Linked DNA regions of Homo sapiens: region 2 is linked to region 1. Evidence: promoter capture Hi-C in human tissues and cell types (Jung and others, 2019). All regions are on one chromosome and are shown on one strand. Each heading gives the region's core, a stretch centred on a gene start or on the middle of the fragment in contact. The rest is flanking DNA. Distances are from core to core; before and after follow the strand shown.

What was found. Contacts are between HindIII fragments. The study calls those that stand out against the background at their distance.
Region 2: a fragment that was not itself captured here is called in contact with the fragment with the promoter of SNCA in region 1 in 4 of the 25 tissues and cell types used here (H1 embryonic stem cells, aorta, heart right ventricle and 1 more).

The regions. Positions count from the first base shown.
Region 1 is chr4:89,833,769-89,840,446 of GRCh38, forward strand. SNCA (synuclein alpha) reads right to left here and starts at 3,393. Exons shown (of 6, transcript NM_000345.4): 1 at 3,194-3,393; 2 at 1,779-1,924. The coding sequence starts at 1,899. It overlaps SNCA-AS1 (SNCA antisense RNA 1), which reads left to right and starts at 2,633. Exons shown (of 4, transcript NR_045481.1): 1 at 2,633-2,966; 2 at 4,493-4,638. The HindIII fragment of the contact is 14,325 bases long and covers 1-6,678 here.
Region 2 is chr4:89,672,216-89,678,893 of GRCh38, forward strand. No RefSeq gene overlaps it. Among named protein-coding and RNA genes, the nearest start is that of SNCA-AS1, 160 kb to the right of the region's middle. The HindIII fragment of the contact is 6,049 bases long and covers 1-5,426 here.

The DNA.
Region 1 (6,678 bases), core at 2,143-4,642:
ACCTGGCCAAGACATAGATCTCATGGCTTAAAATACGTGCTATCTGATTCCTTACCCAAAATTTTGCCAATCCCTGGACTATACTATTGTGTCTTCACATGGTCATTTTTTATCTTAAATTCTGTGTGTAAGTTCAACTCTCAATTAGAACTCAGAATGTAACCAATAAAAAATTTATAGAATGTGCTATGTGTTAAATGCCATGAGAGACATTGAAAATGATTTCAATGAACAGTTAAAAGGTAACTAAGTCAAAGAAACTTGTGCTTGCAGAACTTGGAAATCTGAGGACAAACGGAAAGATATTGATAAACTGCATGTCACTGATTCAGTATTCCAAATTCCATCTAAAAAGGTATAATTCACACTTCATAAAATATTTAAAATTAACTCATCAATTTTTTCCTCTTGTAACACCCTATTTCAATGACTTTCTGAAAATATGTTTTAAGGTAGAAAAAAAGTAATTTAATTGAAGATTTGTGGGAAGATTAAGTCAACATAAGAAAAGTCTAAATAATGAGGCAGTGGCACATGCCTATAATCCTGGCTACTCAGGAGGCTGAGGTGGGGGCATGACTTGAGCCCAGGAATTCAAGGATGCAGTGAGCTATGATAGCATCACTGCAGTCCAGCCTGGGCGACAGAGCAAGGCCCTGACTCTAAAAACTGAAAATAAAAAACTGAAAAAAAAATGTGTTGTGAACTTTGATGAGATGCATTCATATAAATCATCCCAAGTATAAAATTTCCCCCACTGATCTATGTTGAAGAGATAGTGTAGCTTTCTTTCACTTTGCAGACATAGACGGAGCACATGTTTCAGCTAGGCAACTCAATGTGGTCATCCTCCACCTGACTGTTCATCCTGTGACTCTTACTGCTATAGTTGCCACCAGAGAATGTGAAAAAGCTCAGAGGAGAAAGAAGAGAGGAAGAATGGGCAATGTGTCTGTGTTGAGTGTGTGTGTCTATGCCTGTGGATGAGAGTGTGTGTCTATTCTTTTCCAAGGAATTCAAAGTGGTTTGTAAAATAACACTCAATTGAATACAGTTCAAGTTACAGAAAAGAGAGTCAGAGTTTGGGTGTATACCCCAAGGTGGAACTTTAGGAACAAGTAGGTAATAAGCATCAATTTCTTTATTCTTTTAGTATGTGTGTCATTTGATGGATGAACTATACAAATGTTTCTGAGAGATTAGTAGCAGCCCTCAAGCACTTTTCTCTGTCCTCAGTGTTCACAGAGACCAAATGATCACATGAAGTAACTCTATCAAAGACTAATCTGTTCTTTCCATTTTAGGGCCACAAATAGGTCTCTTTATACACATCACAGGGGCATATCAAAGTCATATTTTAAAAATCAGAATGGATTAAAATTGACAAACATTTTTCATGATGGTAAAAGAAATCACAGATCCATCAATGATTTTGATTCTTAAGAATATTCTTGATTATTTTTTAAAAGACTATGAGTTTTTAAAACTGTTCTCTGAAATAGAATTATGTAGGTACAGAAACATTCATTTTTAAAAAGTCATAAATATTAGGGCAAAATTAAAAATCTGGAAAAGCAAACAGTCGCATTTTTTACTATTAGCTCAAATACACACGTTCACATTCACCTACCTACACATACCTCTGACTCAGTCCACCTTTTTGACAAGCAATGATGCAAAAATGAATCAAGAGAGAGAACTACCAGCATTTAGAGTATTGATTATCCTAACCCATCACTCATGAACAAGCACCAAACTGACATTTGGGGTTTACCTACCTACATAGAGAACACCCTCTTTTGTCTTTCCTGCTGCTTCTGCCACACCCTGTTTGGTTTTCTCAGCAGCAGCCACAACTCCCTCCTTGGCCTTTGAAAGTCCTTTCATGAATACATCCATGGCTAATGAATTCCTTTACACCACACTGGAAAACATAAAATACACTTTGAATGAGAACTTTCGGGGAAAAATAAACAAAAAACACTGAAAAATCATGAGAAACCCTCCAAAGTGTGAGACTCTTTTAAGTGTACACTCATTTAACCATTGGACAAAGCAGACATTTTTAGCTCTGGCATTAAAAATTTAGCATCTCCCATCCATCTTGGCTAGTAAAAGTCTAGCCACCTAACCACGGATTAGGATGAATCCTCTGAGTTGTTATTACTGCATTTCAGAAGTGGAGTTGCATGAAAAGATTAACCCCTTTTTTAAATTCCCGGGGTCTAAAGGGTAACAGTATGAGTTAGAAGCATGGAAGCTGGAGGCTTAGGGTCAGGGGTATCCTTAACATGAATCCCAGAAGAAGGCTAACAGGTTGATGGTGGAAAGGCGTAGGCAACAGAACTAACTGCTCACTCGGGGTGTGGTTCAAACTCAGGCAAACAGCAGGCCCAAGTGTGATGGTTCTAATCCATCCAACATCCACCCCCGCCCTCAGCTATCTACCCTGAGCAGGCGCCGCTCACACTCGCGGGCCGTCTCCAACCCCGCGCCAGCCACCCGAGGGGGCGTTCTCAGCCTCCACCCTAGCGGACCCCGCGCCAGCACTTGTTAACCCGTTACCACCTGTTGACTTGGCCTCCTTGCACTTCCATTTCATTATTTGCCAAACGCAGCTTGCTTACTTTACAGAGAAAAACCAAGAGAGCGGGCAGACAGATTTTATGTGAGAGAAAAGTTGGATGCTCACGCTCCATGGAGCATCCTCGCGTTTCCCGGGGAAAAGCGGATCCCGGAGAAGCAGCCTAATCTCTCAGCCCTTGTGGAGAAGGGAATATCAGAAGCAGGACGAAAGCCAGGTCAAGTCTCTTTCCTTAGGCTCCCCAAAGGGACAAGTACTCACCTCCCAGAGACCTGGCCCAGCGGGTCCTCATGGCAGCACCACCCCCTCCCGGTGCCCACGACCATTCGTCTCCCATCCGGCGTTCTCCAGGATTTCCAAAGACGCCCGTTTAGATCCACAGGTACTTACCTGAGTCCCTCTGCTTCTCCACAACTCCGACTCCTCCCCGCCTCTCTCTTTTTTTAAAAAAAAAATTTAAACAATTCCCAAATAATATTTAATAGGAAAGAAGAAGGAAAAGGAGCGCACAGGAAGGGCGGAGGCGGCACCCGGGGGGGACTGTCCCCAGAGGAGGCCGCTGTGAGCCGGCGACGCGAGGCTGGGGGAGTGGGAGGCAAACCCGCTAACCTGTCGTCGAATGGCCACTCCCAGTTCTCCGCTCACGAGGGTGGAAAGGCAGAAGGCTTGAAGGCAAGGCGTGAGGGAGCGCCCAGGACGCTCTCGGAGGGGCCGGGCCGGGGTCTGCGCTGCAGCCCGCACGCACCTCACTTCCGCGTCGCGGCGCTCGGTCGCTCGCCCCCTCTCTTGGGCCCCTTCTGGTCGTCGCCGTCCTCCTCCTCCTAGTCCTCCTCCTTCTCCTTCTCCTCGGCTCTCCGCCCCCACCGCTGATTTGTCAGCGCTTCTGCCCGCCCCTCTCCCGGCGCTCGCTGCTTTCCCTGCAGCGTGCTCCTCGTCCCTATCTCGGATGGGGATGGGGCAGGGGGCGCGGGGTGAGCCATCAACTCCAGCCGCCTGCCTGGCCGCGCAAGGCGGGAAAGTGGGGGCGCTTTTGCGCCTCACGTTAAGTTTAGGGTCACGAGCACTCTTGTGGAGATCGGGAGCGGTTGGGCTAGGGATGATGCCTCTTCCTCTTTCCCCTTCCCCTCCCTTCTTGTCCCCGCCTTTCCTCTGGGTCCTCCCGGGGACCACCCCCTACCCCTCGTCAGAGTCGCCCTGGGAGAGCCGAGGGCCTGAGGGTCGACCACCAAGGGCAGAGCCTATCCCTTGGGGAGCTGCTGGAGGAGACAGGCAGCGCCGGGAGGTGGCTCACACCGCACCGCCGAGAGCGCTTTGCCCTCGCATCGCTGAAATTTAATCACGGTCACAGGTTACAACGTTAGGGGTCGCTTTAGTTCAAATATCTTCAAGGTTTTCGTTTGCTCTTAATCTAGGAAGAGCCGGAAAGGGTCCTGAGGGTGAAAGGGAGACTACTAAGGAAGAGTCACAGGTTGAGGAGGCAGGAGAAGGCTCAGCAAATCCTCTTTCCACGCCACTATCACCATTTTCCTTTCCACCAATCAGCGCCTGCCAGACGCTGATTTTCCCATCAGTGGAACAAGGAATAAATATTCCCCAGCCGTCTAAAACAAGCGGTCCTAAGGCTTTTCGCTCTAGAAATGGGACTTACTTTGCAGACCTCCCTTTATCTGGGAGACAAATCCAGCGTGATTTAGCCTACCGGACCATCATATCCAATTTCTTCTTCAGCCCCTTCTGAAAGGGAGATGCTACACACCACTCACCTTTCTGACTTCTGATTCTCGTTGCCCTCAGAATTGACACCCCCTTTTCTCTCCCCCCACCCACCACACGCACATGCACACAGACATACACACGCGAACTTCAAGACAATTTTTGCATCGCTTAACACATTTTCACCTCTTTCAGAGCTGGAAGACAGCTGTTCCTGGATCACACCAGAATGGAGAAGCAAGCTCCTCCCACTAGCAGAAAGCCTTTGCTTTCTGTGCCTGGATTCGGAAGATTAGTTAAGCACTGGAAGAGGAGGGGGGAAACAACAACTCGTTTTTGCTGTATGTTTTTTTTTTAATTGTTTTTATATTTATAGAAAGTTATGCTTTGTCTGATTCTTGCGCTAATTTGGGTTCTGAAATTTGAGTAAAATCAAATTTAAACATACAAAACAACTTTAAAACCACAAGGAACAGGAAGCAAATGATTATACATAAAAGACATATAGAAGATAATGCATATGTGTTCAGTGGAAAATAGAAAAGCATGAAAGTAAGATCACAAATATTTATTATTTAAACTCTTCCTTGAACTATTGGTCTGCCCTTTGGAAAAGCAGACTTTCCTTAATGCAGTAGCTCATATTAATATTTTTTGTTTGCTTAGGACCAGAGCAAGAAGGTTGGACTTGGGAGCTAGTTTGCTGTCTGGCTTTGAGACCTTGAACAAGTTTTGTTCTCCTTCTGTTTCCAGTTTTCTTTTTTGTAAATTAGGAGATTAACTCATGTGATCACTCTATTTTCAACTTTTTGTTATGGGAAATATTCAAACATATGCAAAAGTAGACAGAATAAAGGACTCTCATGTGAAGATCATCCAACTTTTACATTTTTTCAATGCATGGCTGATCATGTCTCATCCATAAGTCCACTCACTTTATCACTACCAATCCTCCCTCTTTTTTTTTTTTTTTTACCAAATTCAAGCTTTATATATATCTTTTCAGCTGTAAACATTCAGTATGCATCCACAAAATTTAAGGACTGTTTAAAAATAACCACAATATCATTAGATGATTCTTTAAAATTGCAGTGTAATTTACACCTAGGGAAATGCTCAGATGTTGTGTCCCTTTAAATCAGTTTTGAAAAAGCCATGCATTAGTGTAACCCACACTATTTTGAAGACACAGGACATTTTCATCATTCCAGACAGTTACCTTGTACCTTCATGTGCATATTCTAGAATGTCATAAAGATCTAATCACGTAGTATAAACTTTGTTTTATATTTGTCTGACTTCTTTTACTCAGTATAATATTTGTGAGGTTCGTTCATGTCGTTGCATGAATGGGTGTTTTGTTTTTTATTGCTTTTTGTTGTTTCTTTTTACTACTGTTAATAGTATAAGTTTTCCATTGTGCCTCTTTACAACTAGTATCTCAATAGAGTATTACAACAATTATTTAATATATTATTTCACATGACATATTTATAGTATAACCATGACCTCCTTGAGACCTAGTGCTTTAAGTCAAAGAGGTAAATAAAATGAGATATTTTAGGTCTCATTACAACAGACCAATGTGAGAGAATTATTTCTGGACAGTTGCACTTCTTATAAACGTTTAACATGATTCCAAACTTTTATTTGGTAATTTGTTAGTCCTTTGGCAAAGGACTAATGTACTATGTTATTTAGTCATAACAAGCAGATCAATTACATTTTATGTAACTTTTATAGACAGAGAAACTGAGCTCCAAGAGTTTTGGTGATATGCTGAGATCACCTAGCTATTTTAAGTGGCAGAGCTGAGACAATTTAGCAGAAACTGTTACAGAAGGCACAATTGTCTCCTGAATTAGCAGTTTGTGTCTGAAGCCTCACAGATTGGGTGTGGTAAAGAGTGAGAAGGAAAAAGGTAGAACCCAGCTGTGTTAGAAATAGCCTTCAAATTTGGATGTGACAATGGAAATCAAGAAGAACTTATGTTATTATGAAACAGTTCATTCATATTTAAAGTTTTGCCTTTTCTATATTGGTATTCCTCAATAGGGGGAGATGATTTCTTACTACCTACAAAAAAAGAAAACTGTAAACTAATTTCGTTGTCATTTTGAATTACAACTATATGTTTAACTCTTGTCACTCCTTAAAATGCCTTGAACACAGTAAACATCCAATGAACTTTTAATTACACATAATATTGATAGTGATATTGCATATGTTCTAGGTCTGTATTCTTAAGGAGGGAAAGCTGCTCAAGTACAAAGAAGGGAACTAGAAGTTAAAATAAAGTTTTTTTAATTTTTCTTTTCATTATTGATGGACAGCATGGTCTTCAGTAAATCTTTAGCCTCTCTGAATATAACGTTAAACTA
Region 2 (6,678 bases), core at 1,152-3,651, 160 kb before region 1:
CAGGGTAGGGAGTGGACCTCCAGCAAACTCCAGCAGGCTGGCAGAAAAGGGGCCTGACTGTTACAAGGAAAAGAAACAAAAAGAAAGGATTAGCATGTCCACTCAAAGACCCCATCTGAAGGTCACCAACATCAAAGACCAAAGGTAGATTAATCCACAAAGATGGGGAAAAAGCAGCACAAAAAGGCTGAAAATTCCAAAAACCAGAATGCCTCTTCTCCAAAGGATCAAAACTCCTTGCCAGCAAAGGAACAAAACTGGATGGAGAATGAGTTTGACAAATTGACAGAAGTAGGCTTCAGAAGGTGGGTAATAACAAACAACTCCGAGCTAAAGGAGTATGTTCTAACCCAATGCAAGGAAGCTAAGAACCTTGAAAAAAGTTAGTTGAATTGCTAACTAGAATAATCAATGTAGAGAAGAATGTAAATGACCTGATGGAGCTGAAAAACACAGCATGAGAACTTTGTGAAGAATACACAAGTATCAATAGCCGAATCAATCAAGCAGCAGAAAGGATATCAGTGACTGAAGATCAACATAATGAAATAAAGAGAGAAGATAAGATTAGAGAAAAAAGAATAAAAAGGAATAAACAAATCCTCCAAGAAATATGGGACTATGCTTCCAACCAAGTTGGAAAACACTCTTCAGGATATTATCCAGGAGAACTTCCCCAACCTAGCAAGACAGGCCAACATCCAAATCCAGGAAATACAGAGAACACCACAAAGATACTCCTCGAGAAGAACAACCCCAAGACACATAATTGTCAGATTCACCAAGGTTGAAATGAAGGAAAAAATGTTAAGGGCAGCCAGAGAGAAAGGTCGGGTTACCCACAAAGGGAAGCCCATCAGACTAACAGCAGATTTCTCTGCAGAAACCCTACAAGCCAGAAGAGAGTGGGGGCCAATATTCAACATTCTTAAAGAAAATAATTTTCAACCCAGAATTTCCTATCCAGCCAAACTAAGCTTCATAAGTGAAGGAGAAATAAAATCCTTTACAGACAAGCAAATACTGAGGGATTTTGTCACCACCAGACCTGCCTTACAAGAGCTCCTGAAAGAAGCAGTAAACATGGAAACGAACAACCAGTACCAGCCACTGCAAAAAATACCAAATTGTAAAGACCATCAATGCTGTGAAGAAACTGCATCAATTAACGGGCAAAATAACCAGCTAACATCATAATGACAGGATCAAATTCACACATAACAATATTAACCTTAAGTTGAATGGGCTAAATGCCCCAATTAAAAGACACAGACTGGCAAATTGGATAAAGAGTCAAGACCCATCAATGTGCTGTATTCAGGAGACCCATCTCACATGCAAAGACACACATAGGCTCACAATAAAGGGATAGAGGAATATTTACCAATCAAATGGAAAGCAAAAAAAAAAAAAAAAAAAAAAAAAGCAGGAGTCGCAATCCTAATCCTAATATCTGACAAAATAGACTTTAAACCAACAAAGATCAAAAGAGACAAAGAAGGACATTACATAATGGTAAAGGGAACAATGCAGCAAGAAGAGCTAACTATCCTAAATACATATGCACCCAATACAGGAGCACCAAGATTCATAAAGCAAGTTCTTAGAGACCTACAAAGAGACTTAGAGTCCCACACAATAATAGTGGGAGACTTTAACACCCCACTGTCAATATTAGACAGATCAATGAAAATTAACAAGGATATTCAGGACTTGAACTCAGCTCTGGATCAAGCAGATCTAACAGACATCTGCAGAACTCTCCACCTGAAATCAACAAAATATACATTCTTCTCAGCACCTCATAGCACTTATTCTAAAATTGACCACATAATTGGAAGTAAAACACTCTTTAGCAAATGCAAAAGAACAGAAATCATAACAGTCTCTCAGGCCACAGTGCAATCAAATTAGAACTCAGGATTAAGAAACCCATTCAAAACCACACAAATACATGGAAACTGAACAGTCTGCTCCTGAATGACTACTGGGTAAATAACAAAATGAAGGCAGAAATAAAGATGTTCTTTAAAACCAATGAGAATGAAGACACAATGTACCAGAATTTCTGGGACACATTTAAAACAGTGTTTAGAGGGAAATTTATAACATTAATGCCCACAAAAGAGAGCAGGAAAGATCTAAAATTGACACCCTAACATGAAAATTAAAAGAACTAGAGAAGCAACAGCAAAGAAATTCAAAAGCTAGCAGAAGACATGAAATAACTAAGATCAGAGCAGAACTGAAGGAGATACAGACATGAAAAACCGTTCAAAAAAAGATCAATGAATCCAGGAACTGTTTTTTTTTTTTTTTTTGAAAACAAAAAACAAAAAAAAAACCAACAAAATAGATAACCCGCTAGCCAGACTAATAAAGAAGAAAAGAGAGAAGAATCAAATAGACGCAATAAAAAATGACATAGGGGATATCACCACTGATCCCACAGAAATACAAACTACCATCAGAGAATACTATAAACACCTCTATGCAAATAAACTAGAAAATCTAGAAGAAATGGATAAATTCCTGGACACATACACCCTCCCAAGTCTAAGCCAAGAAGAAGTTGAATCCCCGAATAGACCAACAACAAGTTCTGAAATTGAGGCGGTAATTAATAGCCTACCAACCAAAAAAAGTCCAGGACCAGATGGATTCACAGCCAAATTTGAGGTATTGCTCTTCACACTTGGGGGCATTAGCTGCGGGGGTCTGCCTGCAGACCCTGACCCAAACGATGGATGAATAAAATGTACCCTGACACACAGATATTTTGTTTTGCCAGTTCAGCTGAGTGTCCAACTGCCTGCACATCAAGAGAGGTTTGTCACTGTGGCCGGCCCTGAGCAGTTCGCATTCCAGGCATTTATTTGGTATACAATTAACAACAGAAGCTTTGAGTAAACACACTTGCGGATAACTAACATGGTTAAGAGAGTAGTTCTAGGAATGATTAAAGCTCAGGTACCGGGGTCTAAAGTAACTACCATGAGGGGGCAATTTGCCTCTTAGACCTCTCCCCCACCGAGAGAGCCATCTGGCTCAAAGGTTAGTTAATGGAGGTAGGGTAAACACACTTAACTGGAGAAGCCTCTATTGTCCCTAATATTTACGCTATGACCTAATGCTCTAAGGTAAGAACAGGCTGCCTTTGCCCTGTTCAGTTATTACAAGCTATGTAACCTTTCGGCCTTCCAAAAGATTTGTGACTATTCCCTATAACTTTCCCTAATATTTCCCTTTAATATTTCTGCCACCATCCTGAGTGAATCCCAACACGAATTCTACCAGAGGTACAAAGAGGAGCTGGTACTATTTCTTCTGAAACTATTCCAAACAATAGAAAAAAAGGGACTCCTCCCTAACTCATTTTATGAGGACAGCATCATCCTGATACCAAAACCTGGTAGAGACACAACAAAAAAAGAAAATTTCAGGCCAACATCCCTGATGAACATCGATGTGAAAGTCCTCAATAAAATCCTGGCAAACTGAATCCAGCAGCACATCAAAAAGCATATCCAGCATGATCAAGTTGGCTTCATCCCTGCGATGTAAGGCTGGTTCAACATATGCAAATCAATAAATGTAATCCATCATACAAACAGAACCAATGACAAAAACCACATGGTTATCTCAATAGATGCAGAAAAGGCCTTTGACAAAATTCAACAGGGCTTCATGCTAAAAACTTTCAATAAACTAGGTATCAATGGAACATATCTCAAAATAGAGCTATTTATGACAAACCCACAGCCAATATCATACTGAATGGGCAAAAGCTAGAAGCATTCTCTTTGAAAACTGGCACAAGACAGGGATGCCCTCTCTCACCACTCCTATTCAACATAGTACTGGAAGTTCTGGCCAGGGCAATCAGGCAAGAGAAAGCAATAAGTGGTATTCAGAAAGGAAGAGAGAAAGTCAAATTGTCTCTGTTTGCAGATGACATGATTGTATATTTAGAAAACCCCATCATCTCAGCCCAAAACCTCCTTAAGCTGATAAGCAACTTCAGCAAAGTCTCAGGTTATAAAATCAATGTGCAAAAATCACAAGCATTCCTACACACCAATAACAGACAAACAGCCAAATCATGAGTGAACTCCCATTCACAATTGCTACTAAAAGAATAAAATACCTAGGAGTCCAACTTACAAGGGATGTGAAGGACCTCTTCAAGGAGAACTACATATCACTGCTGAATGAAATAAAAGAAGACACAAATAAATGGAAGAACATTCCATGCTCATGGGTAGGAAGAATCAATGTGGTGAAAATGGCCATACTGCCCAAAGTAATTTATAGATTCAATGCTATCCCCATCAAGCTACCACTGACTTTCTTCACAGAATTGGAAAAATACTATTTTAAACTTCATATGGAACCAAAAAGGAGTCTGCATAGCCAAGACAATCCTGGGCAAGAAGAACAAAGCTGGAGTCATCATGCTACCTGACTTCAAACTATACTACAAGGCTACAGTAACCCAAACAGCATGGTACTGGTGGCAGGACAGATATATAGACCAATGGAACAGAACGGAGACCTCAGAAATAACACCACACAGCTACAACCATCTGATCTTTGACAAACCTGACACGCACAAGCAATGGGGAAAAGATTCCCTATTTAGTAAATAGTGTTGGGAAAACTGGCTAGCCATATGCAGAAAACTGAAACTGGACCCCTTCCTTACACCTTTTACAAAAATCACCTTAAGATGGATCAAAGACTTAAACGTAAGACCTAGGACCATAAAAACCCTAGAAGAAAACCTGGGCAATACTATACAGGACATAAGCATGAGCAAACACTTCATGTCTAAAACACCAAAAGCAATAGCAACAAAAGCCAAAATTGACAAATGTGATCTAATTAAACTAAAGAGCTTCTGCACAGCAAAAGAAGCTATCATCAGAGTGAACAGACAACCTAAAGAATGGGAGAAAATATTTGCAATCTATCCGTCTGACAAAGGGCTAATATCCAGAATCTACAAACAACTTAAATAAATGTACAAGAAAAAAACAAACCACCATCAAAAAATGGGCAAACGATATGAACAGACACTTCTCAAAAGAAGGCATTTATGCAGCCAACAGACATATGAAAAAATGCTCATTATCACTGGTCATTAGAGAAATGCAAATCAAAACCACAATGAGATACCATCTCACACCAGTTAGAATGGCAATCACTAAAAAGTTACGAAACAACAGATGCTGGAGAGGTTGTGGACAAATAGTAATGTTTTTACACTATTGGTGGGAGTGTAAATTAGTTCAACCATTATGGAAGACAGTGTGGCAATTCCTCAAGGATCTAGAACTGGAAATACCATTTGACCCAGCAATCCCATTACTGGGGATATACCCAAAGCATTATAAATCATTCTATGATAAAGACACATGCACACGTATGTTTATTGTGGCACTATTCACAATAGCAAAGACTTGGAATCAACCCAAATGTCCACCAATGATAGACTGGATTAAGAAAATGTGGCACATGTACACCATGGAATACTATGCAGCCATAAAAAAGGATGAGTTCATGTCCTTTACAGGGACAAGGATGAAGCTGGAAACCATCATTCTCAGCAAACTATCACAAGATCAGAAAACCAAACACTGCATGTTCTCACTCATAAGTGGGAGTTGAACAATGAGAACACATGAACTCAGGGAGGGGAACATCACACACTGGGGCCTGTTGGGGGGTGGGGGGCTAGGGGAGGGATAACATTAGGAGAAATACCTAATGTAGGTGACGGGTTGATGGGTGCAGCAAACCACCAGGGCATGTGTATACCTATGTAATAAAACTGCACATTCTCCACATGTAACCAAGAACTTAAAGTGTGTGTGTGTGTGTGTATGTGTGTGTGTTTATATATATATACACACACACATATACATATATATATATATAACTTATAAGGAATTTTTACACTAAAAAAAGAAAATGCTGGGTAAGAATAGGGTATGTGGACAGACTAAGAAACAATCAAAAGATGAGTGGGCTGGGTTTGTGGTGGCCAGGTTTGTGGAGCTGATTAAGACATTGCTTTAAAATGATATTTTTTTAATATAAATTACTGTCTATATGAATATAATCCCTTCCAATTCCCCCAACTTTTGTAATTTTATTACAGAAGTGATTTTAAGTTTTAATTCAATTTCTGTCAGTTTGGTATTTTTTGATCACAGACTACAGGGTACTCAAATTTGGGAGGAGGAGGTTATGCAAGTATATTCATATTTATTTATTTATTCACTTATTCATTTTATCTTCCTGCAGTTTAGCGATCAATTTTGCTATTTTATGGTACAAAATGGCTTTCTGCCGCGTTGGTAAAGAAAGCCAATTGTCTTTGAAGCTAGTAGTGGTCAGATGACAAATCCCTGATCAATGATGCTTAAGTGGAAGTCAGCGGATGGTGCTCTCTCCTGGAGATTTTTTAAAGGATCTGATTTATCTGGTTTGTTTAAATGGAATCATAATCAGAGAAATAATTTCACCATGAGAAATTAATTAAAGAAGGCCAGAGGACAGCATTTAAAGTGAAAATCTAAAGGACATAATTGGAAAGAAAAAAAAAACAGTTTGGGGGAAAATGTCAAGTGATGGATTTGTGAGCATTTACTAAGGCAGGGGGCAAGCCATTAT